Regions from separate parts of the Homo sapiens genome. Here region 1 is linked to region 2. The links are contacts of gene promoters, found by promoter capture Hi-C in blood cells and fetal thymus (Javierre and others, 2016). All regions are on one chromosome and are shown on one strand. Each heading gives the region's core, a stretch centred on a gene start or on the middle of the fragment in contact. The rest is flanking DNA. Distances are from core to core; before and after follow the strand shown. Region 1 overlaps LOC107985242 (a long non-coding RNA gene). Region 2 holds the start of CDC73 (cell division cycle 73).

What was found. The method cuts DNA at HindIII sites, captures the fragments that hold promoters and counts their contacts. A CHiCAGO score of 5 or more calls a contact.
Region 1: a fragment that was not itself captured here is called in contact with the fragment with the promoter of CDC73 in region 2 in 5 of 17 cell types (naive B cells, naive CD4 T cells, fetal thymus and 2 more); the score reaches 10.4 in naive B cells.

What each region holds. Positions count from the first base shown.
Region 1 is chr1:194,273,674-194,277,488 of GRCh38, forward strand. The region is part of intron 2 of LOC107985242 (a long non-coding RNA gene); the gene reads right to left. Among named protein-coding and RNA genes, the nearest start is that of LINC01031, 970 kb to the left of the region's middle. The HindIII fragment of the contact is 550 bases long and covers 1,831-2,380 here.
Region 2 is chr1:193,119,749-193,123,451 of GRCh38, forward strand. It overlaps CDC73 (cell division cycle 73), which reads left to right and starts at 2,283. Exons shown (of 17, transcript NM_024529.5): 1 at 2,283-2,583. The coding sequence starts at 2,453. RefSeq lists enhancers at 1,780-2,426, 2,331-2,400, 2,427-3,071, 2,671-2,720 and a silencer at 2,091-2,170. The HindIII fragment of the contact is 13,310 bases long and covers 1-3,427 here.

The DNA.
Region 1 (3,815 bases), core at 856-3,355, 1.2 Mb after region 2:
TCTGTTCTCTACATTTAGTCAACATGAATTATTTGTAGTTATTCAGACTTTCTCTTGTGTTTCTGTTCTTCCTCTGCTTTTATTTTTAATGTCTCTTGCAATCCCTCTATTTTCACTTGGTCTGAATTAAGTAACCCAGTTCTAAATTCCTAGAACACTCGGGGATTATCTGCATCATACTTCAGTGTATCTGTTTCATTAGACTGTGTGGCCACTGGGGCCAAACATAGTGACTAAGGCAGTGTCCATAACTTGGTGAGTACATAATAAAATGTTGGCATTTTAGCATATTTCAGAAGATAATTAATTACAATCTCTGACTACAAAATATTTTTAAGGTATTTAACACAGATATATTTATTCAATGCAATAGCATATAGAAAGTTCTGCATTCACACATAGTAGCTAATCAGAGCCAGTACTGAATGGAGCATGACAGTTTAACATATTCAAACAAGCACCAAGTAAGAAAAGATAAAGGATAACTATAACCATGATATTGAGGTATATTGTCTAAGGAGTTATCCATATCTAGTATAATTTAATGTCTGGTGCTTATAGATTAAATATCTATTTAATACAAACAAACAAAAAGCTAATTTTAGGTGTTCCACGAATAAAATATAATGAATCCATCTCCCACTATTGGGACTAATGTGGAAAACTGAGTAATGGACCAAAACAACTAAATTCTTTAAACAAATTTTTCTTGGTTTAGTATTTATAAACATTTAAGTAAATTATTGGAAAAGATGAAAATATGAAGATTTTAGAGTTAAAAGAAAAGGCATGTAAAGGCATTTAAAAATAAACACATTTCTTGATTTCTTACATTGATCCATATTATTGTATTTCAGCTCATTCAATATTAGTAATAAACAGGCAACAAGCTGCTGTATCTCTTTGAGAATGAATTGTAAACTTATGAAGTAACAAGACGAATCAGGAAGAAAAATTCTATTCAGAGAACAATCATTGAAATCAGAAAGAGATATATTTAAGTTATATCTGTATCACTTACTACCTCTGTAATTTTGGGTGAGTTATTTAGGTTATAAAAGCCTGATATCTACCTCAAAGTGTTGTAAGAATAAATAGTAATTACGCATGCAAAGGGGAAGCAAGGAGATTAACAAATAGTTAATGTTTCATTCATTTGCTGTCATTTACTATGACTTTTGTTAAGGAATTGTTTTTCATAAAACAAATTGTATTAAATAATCATATTACCCATTAGCTTTCATATATAATTCGGAAATGTATTCTCAAGAATAACCAATGACATTATAACAAATAAGTTGCTTGCTTCTCAATGTTTACCAAGCACGGAGTGAGTTACTGGATATCCACTATTCTCTAGATAATTAATTGATAGCATTAAATATGCCCAACTCTGGCCTTGTAACTTTAGAAAGTCCCATGAGTTAATTATGCTGTGTAGGTTTTGCTTCTTAAGAAAACTGAACGTATTTTTAATACTATGGTGTTTGTTAGGTTAAAAGTTAATTGGAAAAATAAAATATTTCCACTCCAAGCAGAATTTGTTTTTCACCTGTGGCTAACATATGAAAATTATACACTTTCTTGGTGCTACATAGTACAATACAAAAATTGTGCTGCAAAACAAAAATTAAAAGATGTAAAGAATTTTGGTGTGACTTTCAGTGATCATGATATGCTTAAAATAATATGCATAATTGAAACAAAAGAATGAATCTTTGAATATAAACCACAGAATATTTCCAGGAAAAGCATATTAGCTTGTCTCAGTTAAATCTTCCAACCAAAGGCTAGAAAATTTGAGTAACTTCTTTTTATTAGTCACTTTAAAGCTTTCAAGTCCTGTAGGAACAAGATCCTGGACAGAGGAGAAGCAAAGAGGTGAATGTGGATTTCCTATGTGTGATTCTTCCATCTGGGGATACGACAATCCACATACGGTGGTATGGAATTCAAGAAGTTGAACAAATATATTTTTTTAATCTCCCAGAGGTGGGATAAAATAAATTGAATGTAAGCCTGACGGGGAGGAGCACACAAATACTTTAGCCTTTTATTTGTGAGGCCTGAAGGAATATACTCTTAAAAAAACAGTAACTTAGGAACTGACTAGCTGTCACAAACATTGAAATCCCACCAAGTATTAGCTCAATCACTAACTGAATTATGGTAATTTCCAATAACCTATACTGAATTCTAGAGTCTGGAAACTGAAGATAGCTATGAGCAATTTACCAAGACTATGGAAGTATGGATTACAGTTCAGGGCTTGCAGAGGTGGAACAATTTTTATGAATACACTAGTCTTCCAGTTGCATGAAGACAAAATCAAGTAAGATGTAGACCAGATCTCATAATGATTTGTAATCAGTTTCAAATAAGCTTAATTTCATATTGGATTAAGGTGGTATGGCCCAAATTTAACTACCTGTGAAAAACGAAAGAAAAACTCTATAAAGACAAGCCAATGTGTTAAAATATTTCTAATTTTTTTTCTGCACAATTCCATTTAAAAAATTACATGTCATAGGCCACGCGCGGTGGCTCACCCCTGTAATCCCAGCACTTTGGGAGGCCGAGGCGGGCAGATCACAAGGTCAGGAGATCTAGACCATCCTGGCTAACACGGTGAAACCCCGTCTCTACTAAAAATACAAAAAATTAGCCAGGCGCCTATAGTCCCAGCTACTTGGGAGGCTGAGGCAGGAGAATGGTGTGAACCCAGGAGGCGGAGCTTGCAGTGAGCCGAGATAGCGCCACTGCACTCGGGCCTGGGCAAAAGGGCGAGACTCCGTCTCAAAAAAAAAAAAAAAAAAAAAAAAAAATTACATGTCATAGCAATGGGCAAAAATAAATGGTGGTGCTAATTATGGTGATCATGATGATAATAACAAAGATTAGAAAAGAAACAAAGAAATAGTTTCAGAGGAGTAATAGGTTATGAGGATTTGAGACCTAAATTATAATATGAGATTAATTAATATTTTCAACCAAATAAAGATGAATTGGAATTTTTCGTCAGAGAACTGAACTTTATAAAATGAGTTATGAGAAAATTAAAAGAATAGAAAATATGCTATATGTAAAATTAAGAATTAAAGGGCTGTACTGAAAAACACATGAGAAACAGCAAAAGACAAGATTGGAGATCTGAACAGTAAAACAAATGAAAATATTTAGAGAGAATACAGAAAGAACAGAGATACCATGAATAGGTCTAATATATGTGCAAATGCAGTCCCATTAGAAATGAAAAAAAATTAGACAGGATAATTATTTGAATAAGTAATAGCTAACGATTTCCAAAAACTGATTACTGATATGAAGTCACAGATTTATGGAGATATATATAGATATATATATATAAAGTCAGGCCTTCCATAAATATATATACACGCAAAAACTATATATGATATATATATCAATATCATATAGATATTATATATCTATATATAATATAAACATATAATCTATAGTATATAATAACACATAACACATTATAGTAAAGTATCTAAAATGTTGAATAGAAAGAGAAAATTTATAACCACCATCTGATTCAATGCTATTCCTATCAAACTACCAATGATGTTTTCATAGAATTAGAAGAAACTATTCTAAAATTCGTATGGAACCAAAAAAAAAAAAAAAAGCCTGAATAGCCAAAGCAATCGTATGCAAACAGTACAAAGCCAGAGGCATCACACTACCCAACTTCAAGCTATACAACAAGGCTACAGTAATCAAAACAGCATAGTACTGGTACAAAAATAGACACATAGACAAATGGATCATGGTGGAGAGCCTAGAAATAAAGC
Region 2 (3,703 bases), core at 1,033-3,532:
CTTTGATTGATCTAAAACCTGGCAATTTGGTCCTTTGGAAAAGGAACCAGAATAAAACTGTCCTTGGGCACTGGTGGAAAGAACCTTATTGGGTACTGTTAGCAATTGAGGTAGTGGTTTAAACTCCAAGGTAATGATGTTGGATCCATCGTTTCCAACTAAAAAGACATACCACTTTCTTCTGATTGCTGGGCATTTACTCTAACAGAAGACATAAAACTAAAGATTTTTTAGGAATTCTTCAGGAGCTAATATCTGGAGATGTGGACTGCTTTTGCCCAAGACAAAGAAACCAGACTATTTTTCTGTTTTTTTCTAATTAATTTTCTAATTTTTCAGCTCTACCACTAATCTTGCCTTTTATTGTATTTTGACATCCTCCAATGAACCAGTATTGGTAGGGCAATTATAAGGGTACTTAGATAAAAACAAAAATGATCTACAATTGCTTCTGTAGACACAGGGTCTAGGTATGTTGCCCAGGCTGGTCAGGAAAAAAATGATCTACAAATTTCAATGCTTTAACTGTTAAAAGCAACAACTTACTAATGACTTATCTTACCACTTTTTAAAATTCATTAACCTAAAAAACATAATTTCTCTGAAAAGAGAGACTTTAATCATTATTTGAGTATGAAATAAAATTAAGTATCGTTTGAAGGGACTATAGTCGAGCCTCCTAATCATGAAATCTTGGCTTCCTTGAGCTTATCTTTCCATTCATTACTTCAACATTTATTAGAAGCCTCTATCCATGTATTAACTCGATATTTACTAGGAGCTTCCATCAATTTATTGAATTCATCCATTTATTACTAATATGTACCAAATAATGTTAGACAGTAGGATATGAGGACACAGATCTATGGTGTTTCAGTTTTGTGGATGCAGGCAAATAAACTATAAAGGGAAGTAATATGGTACTGAGTGCTCTGACACAGGTATGAATAGAGAATGTGGGGATAGGTAATTGTAGCCATTTCTTTATAATGTGTGTGCTTGGGGTGAGATTCAGGAGAATACTACGGGGTGAAAACATTGGTGGAACAGAAAAAAATTTCACAAACTAACAGTTGCAGAATGGCTACAGATCATATCGGAAATGAACCACACACTTCTGTATCTGTAGTCCTCTGCGTTGTGAAAAGATTGACTTTTTTCAAAACAGGTCAAGGAATTTGGTTATGTCAAACACAAAGTTGCCTCTTTTTTCCTTCTGACATGGTAAAAGAAAAAAAACAATCCCATAGGATGTGTTTGGTTGGCCATAGTATATTGAACTTATCTTAACCGTCTCAAAACGCATGTCAAGGACACCACTGAGACTTCTGAGTACCATTTAAAAAATTGGGTAGTCTGGAAGTGTTCTAAATTGGACCGTTTGGGGTTTCTGTTAGGGCAACTTTCCCATTTACATCTTGGAACACAGCCTTTTGAATATAGCCCTTCGGGATTGGCGGGGAGAAGGGACCGCGATGGAAAAAGTCATCATCCAAAGAATGAAGAGGGAGGATCCAACATTTAGGATATTTTATTGACTTGCTAGGCGCGTTTACCTTATCTTCGTATTAACCCCATTTTCTTCATTAACCAATTGATGCTGTGAGAAGCTATGTAACTTGACGAGCAGTGCCCAGAACTGTTTTTTTTTTTTTCTGGACTCGGTCTTTTCCACTCAAAACCAACAAAAAACCAAAACTCGTTCTTTTCCACATCAAAAGCAAACAAAAAACCCCAACCCCAACCCCAAGAGCCCCACTCTTTCAAAAGGGCTTCTCCGGATCACTAAGTCCTAGAGGTCTTTGGCTAGGCCTGGGTCCGATCTAAATAGGAAGGTAATTCTAGTGTTCCGCAAATCCTTGCCGAATTCCATCCCGGCCAAAGCAGGGACCCGGGGGAGCCTCTGGTCGCACCCGAGACAGTTCGTTAAATACTCAGTGCACGTGCTGGGGATGGAAGTGCTGACCCACTGCTCAGGTACGCGCGCACCTGACGCCGCTTGGTGCGCGCCGCGGGGTACTGGGTACGTGCTCCGCGCGCGCGCGCCCGGCAAAGTTCCCCGTACGTGCGCCGTACGTGGGCGCGGTGCCCCAGCGCTCAGCGTTTCAGCGAGTGAGTGGGCTCCGTGCCCAGCTGAAGTCTGGGAGGGGCACTTTTCCAGGCGGTCGCGGCTCCCCCTGGCGGCGGATGTGCCTCGCTGGAGGGGCGCAGTCAGGCGTTCTCCGCGGGCAGCCGGCGGCGGGGCCTTGCCTTACAGCGCGGGGTCCTCGGCGGCCTGGGTGGCTACTGCCCCTGCTGCTGTCGTAGGCGAGGACGGCTGTTAGTGCTGCTGCTGTTGGTTCGTCGCGGCGGCGAAGGAGGAGGAGGAAGAGGGCGAGGCGACAAGAGAAGAAGGAGGCAGGCGCGGCGGCAGCGGCGGCGCCCCGAGCCGGCGGAGGCGAGGGGGGGGAAGATGGCGGACGTGCTTAGCGTCCTGCGACAGTACAACATCCAGAAGAAGGAGATTGTGGTGAAGGGAGACGAAGTGATCTTCGGGGAGTTCTCCTGGCCCAAGAATGTGAAGACCAACTATGTTGTTTGGGGGTAAGTCCGGCATGGCTGTGGCCCAGGGGTGGCAGGGCAGAGTTGGGCGCCCCCAGGCGACCTCTTTCTTAACCCCTCCCCCCGTTTCCCCTGGGGATGGGATAAAACGGGTGTTCGGGGAAAAGAAAGTTTCTCTCTAGAGCAGAAGTTGCACTTTTAGGGTAAGGAAAGAAGGGGCGGAGCTCTAGAGCAGTTCATCACTTAAAATTTTTGAGAAGCCCAAAGGAAAGGTACCGTGGGAGTTTCTGACTTTTACAGTTAATTTTTATCAGTAGGTATGTGTACCAGCGAAGTGTGGGACTGGTGCGCAAGGGATACCTGAACATAGGTGCACAAAGGAGCACACCGTCTGGTGCCGTAGACGCCTCTTTTTGTTCTTTATTTTTTTTTTCTCTTTTCCAGGCTGCTATGTAACTATCTCCGCTGGTCTTTGCAACTCCTGGTTTATTTCATCTCCTTTCATTGTTGGGGTGGGGGTGATTCCTGTAGAAGAGAAAAGGGAATCAACCCTGAAGTTAGGACCGGAAAGAAATTTGGTGAATTTGGAAGAGTCATAAAAGTCTGTGTTAGAGAGGTCTTCAGGAGTTGGTGAAATGAGTGAGCTTTACAGATCTAAGAAATAGATGGTGCGTGTGATTTTTCGGAAGTGTATTTTAAAGGGAAATGTTTGGGAATGTTGGTCCATGTGAAGTTTTATCAGTTTAAGTCATTCAGGAAAACTTCTAGAGACGGCTCTAACAGTCATTAGGGGCCTTTTTAATGATGTCACTGTCATTGGTGCATCGCTTCTAGAATTAGAACCTTGAGCTACAACTTCCCTACTCATTTTGTTTCTTTGAATGGAAGCTTTATGAAGAGTCGATGAAAAACTAGGGAAATTTAGTTTGTTGGTTGGTATTTATTTATTTATTTTTGAGAGGGAGTCTTGCTCTGTCGCCCAGGCTGGAGTGCAGTGGCGCGATCTTGGCTCACTGCAATCTTTGCCTCCTGGGTTCAAGTGATTCTCTTGCCTCAGCCTCCTGAGTAGCTGAGGTTGCAGGCCCCCGCCACCATGGCCGGCTAATTTATGTAGTTTAGTAGAGATGTGGTTTCACCGTGTTGGTCAGGCTGGTCTCGAACT